2 separate regions of the Homo sapiens genome follow, and region 2 is linked to region 1. Evidence: promoter capture Hi-C in 16 types of primary human blood cells and fetal thymus (Javierre and others, 2016). All regions are on one chromosome and are shown on one strand. Each heading gives the region's core, a stretch centred on a gene start or on the middle of the fragment in contact. The rest is flanking DNA. Distances are from core to core; before and after follow the strand shown. Region 1 holds the start of ANGPTL5 (angiopoietin like 5). Region 2 holds the start of ARHGAP42 (Rho GTPase activating protein 42).

The links. The method cuts DNA at HindIII sites, captures the fragments that hold promoters and counts their contacts. A CHiCAGO score of 5 or more calls a contact.
Region 2: a contact is called between the fragment with the promoter of ARHGAP42 here and the fragment with the promoter of ANGPTL5 in region 1, in 1 of 17 cell types (total B cells). The highest score is 5.7, in total B cells.

The regions. Positions count from the first base shown.
Region 1 is chr11:101,915,272-101,920,671 of GRCh38, reverse strand. ANGPTL5 (angiopoietin like 5) reads left to right here and starts at 4,150. Exons shown (of 9, transcript NM_178127.5): 1 at 4,150-4,653. CEP126 (centrosomal protein 126) reads right to left here. Exons shown (of 11, transcript NM_020802.4): 1 at 5,260-5,400. The coding sequence starts at 5,387. The HindIII fragment of the contact is 9,032 bases long and covers 1-5,400 here.
Region 2 is chr11:100,683,660-100,688,914 of GRCh38, reverse strand. ARHGAP42 (Rho GTPase activating protein 42) reads right to left here and starts at 1,627. Exons shown (of 24, transcript NM_152432.4): 1 at 1,083-1,627. The coding sequence starts at 1,236. It overlaps ARHGAP42-AS1 (ARHGAP42 antisense RNA 1), which reads left to right and starts at 960. Exons shown (of 2, transcript NR_133571.1): 1 at 960-1,282; 2 at 3,212-4,754. RefSeq lists enhancers at 863-1,232, 1,553-1,602, 1,316-2,026 and silencers at 1,253-1,422, 1,723-1,912, 1,963-2,257. The HindIII fragment of the contact is 7,960 bases long and covers 1-4,304 here.

The DNA.
Region 1 (5,400 bases), core at 2,901-5,400:
AGAACACGCCACTATACTCCAGCCTGGGCAACACAGCGAGACTCTGTCTCAAAAAAAAAAAAAAAAGTTCATTGAATTACCGTGTAATCACATTTAGTACCTCATCATTAGATGTAGAAATATATGAGATTATACTGAAGTTATAGATTGTAGGGCATATCTATTTGTCTTTTTTAGAACAAACAGCTTGTTTAAAAACTTTTTACGCTAAGATGGAGGTCCAAAATTCTCTTTAAAGGCTGCATTTAATCAAGATTGTAAAAATCTCATAAATTGATTATTAATGGTAAAACAGAATACTAGAAATACACTCAATAATAAACTATGCGGTACATAATTTGTTAATTCAACATGTTAATTTCAGGATCCTATAGTGCTTCAGCATCAATATTATAAAGAAACTCTATTATTACATATTTCAGAATAACAGGTTTATTTGAACATTTTGTTGTTTAGACCTTTGCTGATGGGGGCTTATTTGTTTTCTTTTGTGTTGCTATTTAACCATCTTTATACCATAGGCCATAATTCATTTTACCTTCATTTTAAATAAAATTTTACACTACTTCAAGACAAAGACCCAAACACACTCACAAACATATTTTTACTTAAAGATTTCTTTTAAAGGATTTATAAAAATCAAACCAAAAGGGAAGAAAATTTGGTTCTTTGCTAGCACAGAAAAACTGTTTTTCTCTGATAGAATATTTTAACAAGAGCCAGACTTCAACAAGATGTCTAGGTATTAAAAGTGACAACTCGGCAGTAAAGAAAAGTGCAACTTCCTTTCAGGGTGCACAGGGCCAACATGAGGTTGAGGGGAGGAAGATGCTTTGGCTTAAGTGAGAAGCAAGGAGGAGACAGTTCTGTTCTCTGTTTGACATGTTTGAAGTCTCATCACGACAGCATAAAGAAAATCACAAATGTAATGTTTGTAATGTTCTGACAACTATATAGTCTTCAATTTAACCAAATGATTTTCTACTTTCTTTATATATAAGTATAATAGTATAGTATGTTTCCTGCTGAATTATTAATTATTAATATAAAGAATCCTGCTGCTTTTGTATCATTTCAAATATGGTATTCAAGTTTAAAAAAATTAGATGGCTGGTTAAATTTTGTTTTTTTATACAAGCTGTATGGTAAAGGTAGGAGTTCCATAAAAAAAACACTGCTAAATACCTGTCCAAAAGAAGGGAATTTTTATATACTTAACATTAAAAAAACAAAACCAAGAATAATATGTATTGTAACATGTGATTTTAAAGCATAGCTTATTCTACCCCACTCTATCCTCACTTCTCCTCTCCCAACTTAGTCTTTTATCCAGTTAGGTTGTTTAAAATGTTGCCATCACAAATAACTATGTATTATATAACCCATTTTTTCCCCAAATCTATTAAAGCTATGTTGATTCGATTTTTCCTCTACTGTACCTTCTTCCTCTCCCTTAACTCAGGTACTCTAAATCCCTTGCTTGGACGACTACAGTGCTCCTCTAATTCTTCTTACTCTAAACCTCTATTTGAACCTACACAAAGTCAGCTAAATGCAAATCTGATTGTGTTTCTCTTTGTTGTTCTCCAAAAGCTCCCTATCACCTTCATGAAAAATTCCAAAGTTCTTGGACCTATATATAAACCATTCTATAATATAGTTTGTTTTTTCAACTTTATTTCTTAACATTTCCCTGTATGAATCCTATGTCCAGACGCACTAAGATAATTATAAACAGAACAACCCGTGATGTATCATACCATTATCTCTTGGCACATGCTTGGCTAACTCTACTCATCCTTTCAGGGCCATCTCAAGCAGTTCGTTCTACCTTGAAGCCTTTTCTAACCTCCACTAGATGACTTGATGACACCTTCATGAGTACATGATAAGTGTCTTCTCTACATTTCTGTAACTCTCACGCCTGGCATGGTTCTTAGAATATAGTAATGATTTAATAAAAACCTCCTGAATTATTCCCTTGGAGAAAATTCTCTGGGGTAGATATGAGGACAAAAGGCATATGCATTTTTATATCTTTTAGTGCATTATAGAAAACTTGGCTCCTAAGGGGGTTATACAAAAGTATATGCCATTAGAAATGTATTATGTACCTAAGTTTCAAAATCTCATGAGCATGGGGCAGTACCTTTTAGAAACACAAGGTACAAAACTATGTTTTATTATGTATGTATTAGCAAAATACAATTTATTTATTTATTTATAGACAGGGTCTCACTCTGTTGCCTAGGCTGGAGTGCAGTGGCATAATCTCGGCTCACTGCAACCTCCACCTCGCAGTCTCAAGCAATCTTCCTGCCTCAGCCTCTTAAGTAGATGGTACTACAAGCATGCACCACAACACACAGCTAATTTTTGTATTTTTTGTAGAGATATGGTTTCACCACGTTGCCCAGGCTGGTTTCGAACTCCTGGACTCAAGCAATCTGCCTACCTCGGCCTCCCAAAGTGCTAGGATTACAGATGTGAGCCACTGGGCCCAGCTGAATGGGTTCACTTCACTTTCTATAGTAAAAGTAAGATCCCATCAGTGAGCCTGGGGGGAAAAAAAGACAGGTGGGTGGGAGTGTGTGTGTTTGTGCTGTTTGTTGGAACAGACCTGTCAGGGCATCCAAGTCTTATCAAGTGGTAAGACAGTCTATCGAGTGTGATGGAAGGTGACAGAGACCTGGCAGAGGCATTCATAGGAAAAAGAAAGAACCCTGTTCCTGTTTAGGTGAAGCTGGAAACCATCAATCTTTAGTGGTACAATCTGTATTGTTTTGTGATTTTTCTTTGACAGCATTTTTATTATTCGCATGAAGGAGTAAAGGAGCAGGACTATAGTAGTTATTGAGTGGCTGAGGCAGAATGATTGGGGTACAAATAGCCAAAGATGTTGGTGAGAGAAAGTTCAAATAGTTAAGAATAGGGTATAAACTGGAGAGGAAAGGAGAGGCAAGGTGGGTGCTAGGATAAAATGGGAGGGTTGAAGGGTAGAGATATTTATGAGGAAAAAAAGGCAGGTATAAGGGGACATGAGAGACCTTCCTTTTTTTTTTTTTTTTAAATTCCATTTCTATTTGAACTCTCAAAAGAGAAAAAGAGATTGAAATGACAGAACTTTAGCTAATTTTAATTAAATAAACTTCATAAGGTTTTGTTGTTTTATAACCTTTAGAGTCAGAAAATTCTGACTCCAGTGAGAAAATGTCTTCAACAGAAAGCCAGATGGCCTCTGAGTATCATGTTCATATTTGAAATTGAAATGTAAATGTTACCACATACTTGCTTATTTTAAGGCTGTGGTCCTTTCATTTGCTTTCTTTCCTTTTTTTCATTTAGTCATGTAAATTTGAGCACCTACTCTGTGCTAGGTATCCAATGGGAAACATTATAGACACAAAGAACATTCCAATTAAACTTATATAAAAGGTACTTTAGTGTTTTTCCAGCTAGCAAACATAATGTTCTTGATTTAGTGTTATAATCTTTATTATGTTCAAAAATAATTCCTCTGTTCCAATTTAAATATATATTATCTAAACATATATATACACACATATGCAAACTAGCAAAAATATATATAAACCAGCACACACACACACACACACACACACACACACACACACACACACACACATTGTTGGATTTTATCAAAGTCTATTGGTCATCTATTAAAATGTTCATTTATAACTTGCCTAATTTTAACTATATATTTAGCCTTTAAGGATCTTTTTTAGTGTTGTATTTCTTTATAGGAAATGTCATTCTAATTCTGGAATAGAGTCTATTTGGTTGTGTTCATTCAAAGTATTGCTGGATTCTATTTATGAATATTTTCTTTGGCATTTGTATCAAAAATTTATACCACATAAAATTTAAAAAATGAGGCCTACAACCATTTTATTAATGAAAATAACAGAAAATACACTCTCAATGAGCCATTTACAATACTTCCCTATTTTCTGATTTAGAGATAAATCAGGGTCGTGTAATAGCAGTTGTGTCCAAGAAAATATAATGTCAAGAGGCCAGAATTAAATCCATACAGAAAATGATTGTGTTCATTTCAGAGTAACCTTTAAGAGGGCAATTTTGGGGAGCAGCAAGGGCAAAAGCCAAACTGAATGGGGTTAATAATGAATAGATGAGAGGAACTAGAAGCAGCTATTGCAAGCTACCATTTTGAGAACCTGCCCAAAGAAAGAAAAGACTGAAGGGATGGAAGATTGCAGAAAGCATGATCGGAGAAGAGATATTTTACTTTTAGTGAAGCTCTATACACATTTGTCTTCCTCACTAGATTTGTATCCCTAGAACCTAGAACAGAGTCAGCCAAAGAGCAGGCACTCAATACAAATTGTTGACTTGCTGCTAAAATTGTAACAGAGTACAAAGAACATCCTAGAAATTGGAGACAAAGGGGATAAGAAAACAGAGTTAACTTGGAAAGAGAAGACACTCATCTCTGACAAGACTGAAGATGATTACACAACACCATCATTGCCAACCAAGTCCTTTGGGAATACAAAGGTTAAATCCTAATCATCACAACAGTCTCTAAAGGAATAAACCTGATTTACAGATTTTGATAACAAAATACTTCTCCTCTTTCCATTTTCTACAATGCAACCAACAGCAACATCAAAGGTAGGCTTAACCAACTCTTCGAGAAAAGTCAGAGTTAATCCAGATTGTAAAGCGTCCAGGTCCCCTGTTTCTCATTTCCTCTTTTCTGTCGCTCTGACAACAGACTGGGCAGAGATGGAAAACAAAACAACTTACCAAACTGTGTAGCCTTTAGCAGCTCTGGTAAATGCATTTAGGGCTGTGTTAGGATAACTGTTAAAACGGACTCTTTAGGATAGCAAAACATTTTACTTATTTGTGTAATTTCTCTCTCCAAGTAGTACGATAAATCAGGAAGTAGTTAATATGTAAGTAAAGAACATAATGGCATAAAAATATCCCCACAGAATACACAGTTGATGTGTTTTAAAATTCACAAAAATTTTACAAAGTTGAAGAATGGGAGTAGGATAACAGGGTGATGGGGGGAAGCAGCCACAGAATTAGATAAAATGGTATAATTTCAGGTCTAAGGTGAGACACGACAGTTGCTAAAGGAAATATCTGCACTAAGATGACTTGCTAGTTTTGATCACCCTGCGTCAAAGGTAATGGGAATCTAATTGGAAAAAGATGGGCCCCGTTTTCAACATCGCTACCCTGGCAGCCACAGGCTGGGAAGGATACAGGTAAGAGCCAGGTCGGTGATGCCCGCCGCTCTCCCGAGGGCCGAGGGGGGCTCTGTCGAGGTTGTCCGATGATTCAGTGCCCAGTTCCCCGACCGCGCTCCGGGTTCCGGGCCTCCCCGCCAGCATCCTTCACTTCAGC
Region 2 (5,255 bases), core at 378-2,877, 1.2 Mb after region 1:
GGGGTAACTAGATCACCCAAAGGTCTCTCTACCTTTTGAAAGTACCTCACTCACCCAGCTTTAAGTGACCAGAGATTCCACGGCTTCATTTCAGTAGCTAAAACATCCAGAAGCCTCTATTAAGATGCAAATACTTTTCACAGGCTCCTTTGAAGATGGAAAATAAATAAATACATAAATAAATAAAAATAAATTTTTTAAAAGATGCAAATACCTCCTGGGAAAGGTAACAAGCCATATCATGTAATTGTGCTCAATTCTCTGTAAGAGAAACTCTTCAGTTTCAGATACTCTTAGGTCTTAGGAATTGAAAGCTAAGATCCAGAGGATAAAAGGAGGAAGGAAAATTTGATCAAGAGGTGTATGGGAAAGGAGGTGGAAGAAGCCCTATATTATAGACTATAACAGTCTTTATATTCTACAGATCATCAAAAGTTCTGATTGGCCTTTAACCCCTTAACTTTCATCCCAATGACACACCCAACACCCACACAATGCAAACCAAAACTAAGACGCACAGAAAACTTGCAGAGTTAAAATGCACTGGTGCCTTGCTGTCTTCCATTATCTTACAAAATGGCAAAACTGCAAATGTATGCTTTTTAAAAAGCCAACTCAATGACTGTGTCCAATGAAGAGCCACTGACGTATGAGAGACATTAATAATTTTCTTTCAATATCACTAAACTAGCCTAATTTTATCTTTAAGACAAACTCTTGATTCCCCCCTTAAGGGCTTTTTTAGTTCAAACTATTAATAGACACAATAAATTAAAAAAAAAAAATTAAAGTCCCCAACATCTTCCTAGGAGCATTACACAACGAGATGACTTTGAACGACTTTCCTCAGGATATATTCCAGTGCCCTGTAGAGAACTTTCCCCATCCCTGTAGACATGTGAGTAAGTAAAGAACACCTCAAGAACAAACTTTGTTGGCCACCAGCAGGGGAGCTCTTCAGCTTTTGTCCCCAAATCCATTCAAACAAAAGAAGCTCCGACTCCTCCAACCCACCCTTCGGACCCGCACCCCGCGGGGACTCTCCAGATGCGGGTGTCCACTCCCCCGCCAGCCCTACTTACTCCTCAACGCCCCAATGAGCAGAGAGCCGTCCTTAATGAGCTCCTTGATGAACTTGTTGGTTCGCTCCAGCTCAATCTCGTGACACTGCAAGCGCTCCCTGAAATCTGGGCTGTCCAAGTAGGAATCGCTGAACTCCAGAGTGGGCAGCCCCATGGCACAGGCGCTGCCAGCGGCGGCCGCGGACACGTCCGGGCCGGAGGTCAGGGCGGGGGCAGCCGGCGGCCGCGGCGGGCGCTGGGGTCGCGCGATCGCGGGGAAGGCGCCGGGACGCGAGGGGACTGATTGCGCGGAGGAAACGGGCCCCGAGCGCCGCGCCGCCTGCGCCGGGCTCAGTCTTCCTCCCCCGAGGCTAGGCGAGCGCAGGCGCGGGCGGCGGGCCGAGGCGCGAGTCCCCTCAGGTTGTTGTCATCTGGACGCATCGTCGTTCGGAACGCGGGGGCGGCGAGGCTCCGGGCCGCGGCCGGAGCAGGAAAGTTTCTCTCACGGCGCGCAGACACTTCCGGCAGTTCCACTCCCCAACTCTCTTGACAGTCGTCGGCGTTGTGAGCCAGAAGCAGCGCACAGCCGCAACTCCGGCCGGGCTGGGGAAACCCTCCCCCTCGGCGGACGCAGGCTCAGAGCGCTTGCAAATCGCACCCGGGCTCCCAGACCCTCCTCCCCGCCGCCGCGCTCCCACCCAGCGCCACCCCGCCCCTTCGCCCCTTTGCCCTCCTGCCCCACCCGTCCGCCCGCACTGGGCTCCAGGGCTCCCCGCGCTGCAGCCCCGCGCTTGCGCTCCGGCCTTGGCTGGGGTGTTAGCCCTGTCCCCTCTTGGGCCCCTGGTTTCGGCTAGCCCTTGGTGACACTTCGGGGTCCCTCGCTCCACAAAAGGATCTGACTCCCAATATACCTCCCCTAACAGTGTCCCCTCCACCCACTCCCTACAATTCTCTGGGAGAAAAACCAACGTTAAGTTTCCCTAAAGTCTGAGTATTTTGAAGCGTAGATGGAAGATACTACTGTCTAGCGTTCGTTTAGATTTTACTTCACACTTCCCCACCGAATGCATTTGAATTCCACGTTGAAAAATTGTCCCGTCGCTCTCCCACCCCTCAGCTTCAATGATCCAGCCTGGAGGTGTTTCTTCCCCCTGCCCCCACTCCATAGCTGGGAAGGTGGGACGATTTTTCAAGTCATCCTCACTCTGCTTACGTGCTCCTACTTCTAGTAGAATACCTATTTGCATCACAATAGTAGTATCTCCTATTGGCACCTGGATGGAATTGTCCTAGGAGCGGGAAAATTTTCAAATTGTTGAAGTGGACTGGAGTTTGAAATAAATAGTTAACTCCTACCCACAGGCTTTATCCTTCCTCCGGTGGAGGTTCACCTAATAAATTTCTGTTCTCTTAAAACCTTGACAGCAAAAGAAACGACTGCTTTACATCTCGTCCTGACATCATCTATAGGATTTCTGAGAACTCGGATATTGTTCTTAAGGATCTGCTTTTAATTTCTGCATTTTCATTGCTTTGTCCATATGAACCATCTGTTTAAAAACTATTCTACAGATCATGGGAAAAATTCCACTAAAGTGCTTTACATTTTTCCCAATTAAGTTTCAGAGCCAGTCAAGATTCTTGGTTTCAATTTTTTAAATGTACAGGAACATTAAAAATAACATGTAAACCTAAAACAGATAAGATAATGTAAACAGTATGGGCCAGGCGCAGTGACTTAACGCCTGTAATACCAGCATTCTGGGAGGCTGATGCAGGAGAATCACTTGAGGTCAGGAGTTGGAGACCATACTGGCCAACACGGTGAAACCCAGTTTCTACTAAAAAATACAAAAATTAGCTGGGCCTGGTGGCGCACGCCTGTAGTCCCAGCTACTTGGGAGGCTGAGGCAGGAGAGTCACTGGAATCCGGGAGGCGGCGATTGCCATGAGCCGAGATTACGAGATTACTCCACCGCACTCCAGCCTGAGTGACAGAACGACTCCATCTCAAAACACCTTCCATCCATATTCACATCTTTGGCCCCATATTGGCAAAATGACCAGTCACTATTAGAGCCATTTTAACTCCAAGTGTTAAATTTGTTTTTGTTAACTAAATACTCTTCAATTTTTTTTTTCTTTTGCAGGTTTGGGGAAGGGAGAGGCAGTAATTCTGTTTGTCAGTTAATGAAATGACATGACATAAACACCAGTGGACTGTGTCTCACCAGAGGTGATTTTGTATTTACTCATTACTCTGCCTGAAAGACAAAAAATCACCCAGGCCAAACAGTTTCCTTTCAACTTTTGCCATGTTGCTGTTCCTATCAACTGAATCCAGTGCCAAACTGCTGAGATACGAAACGATAAAATATAACATTCTCTTCTTGTTTTTCATTAAATCATCGTACTGTGATTAAGTCTTTAAAAATGCATCATTGGTGTTTCATAAGTTGCATTTAATATGTTGGATGTCAATGTTTAGTTTTCTTTAAAAGTGTTACATGCCAGGGCAGATGTATTGTACATTCTATGATACAGGTTATCATTTGCCCATTCATGTATGTAATGATATGTTTTATGTCTACTGTCTACATTACTAAGGTCTGGGTGGGGAAGTGATTTCTATAAAAAGACAGAAGCATTATCCGTGACCTCAAGCAGTTCTCAGAAAAAGGAAATGTGGAAAATAAGTACCCATAAAGCATAAGGCAGAATATGCTGTGTTCCACAGCCTCACACAGATGCTGTACTAATAATACATTGATGCTATTGTTTATCAATATGTTTCCACTCAGGCCCATCATTGCATTTACATGGAATTAGGATTTTTTCTCCTACCCTTCACTCATGATTCCCTAAAGTTTATCATGTTATAATGGGCTTATTTCTTGTAGGTGTTTTCATAGTTACTCATGCTTATTCCTATGATTCATACTTTAATTATACCTGCTAGTCAGGCTTTCTCTTATGCCACATTAACACAGCTACTTGAGAAAAACCAGAAATGCTTTTGCTTTGAGGTGGGTTTACTGTCGGTTTTGAACTGTTGTTTCCATGCATGATTCTCTCCATCATAATTAACTGAACCAGATTCTTTCCTAGAGAATAGACTTTCTATATAAAAGATCAGCAATACCTGCAAGCCTGTTTTCATAAACAAATGTAATGGATTGAAATATAGCCTGTCCAGAAATTTCCACTTCATAACACATGACACCGTAAGCTGCGTGGTAAGCTTCGCAAATATTATTGGCTGACAGGCTCTTTGGCACAGAGAAATGTCTCTTTGTTTTCCTGATTCTGGAATGGGATATGTGGGCTTTGTTTACTTGCTTTTGAGAGCAAATAGATAGTAGAGGATAGTAAACTAATATGGCATTTGTAAATCTGCCTAAAACTGTTTCTTGACGTAGATCATGTCTGACACTTAAGCCTGGCACTTCGTATGTACTCAGTAAGTGTTATTGTCAAGCTATTATTACTTTTCAATTAATTATGTAGATTTAGACCACCCAGACTCAGCTGATCTGAGGTTAAGTTCAAGCCTGGTAAGAGATGACTAAACAGAAACCAAGTGTTTCTTCTTGGTTTCCCCTCCTCCCAGCTCCTGGTAACCATTGTACTTTCTGTCTCTATGAATTTGACAATGTAGGTATCTCATATAAATGAAATTATACAATATTTGCACAATGTGTCTGTCTTATTTCACTTAGATGATTCAGTCATCAAAAAGAGAAGCAAAGAAGAAATAAGAATTAGATATACATTTAAAACCCATATGAGGAGCCAGGCCTGGTAGCTCAGCCTGTAATCTCAGCACTTTAGGAGGCCCAGGTGGGCATTTCACCTGGAGTTCGAGACCAGCCTGGCCAACATGATTAAACCCCATCTCTACTAAAAATAGAAAAATTAGCTGGGTGTGGTGGTGTGCACCTGTAATCCCAGCAGGTACTAGGGAGGCTGAGGCACGAGAATTGTTTGAAGCCAGGAGGCAGAGGTTGCAGTGAGCCAAGGTTGTGCCACTGCACTCCAGCCTGGGCAATGGAACGAGACTCTGTCATCTTAAACAGATAAAAATTTTAAAAAACCCAAAACAAATAAACAAAAAGAAACAAGCATTTGAACCTACTTAATTTTTGACTTAATTTTCTAAAATACTCTTCTGACAGCCAAAAAATGAAGTTCAGA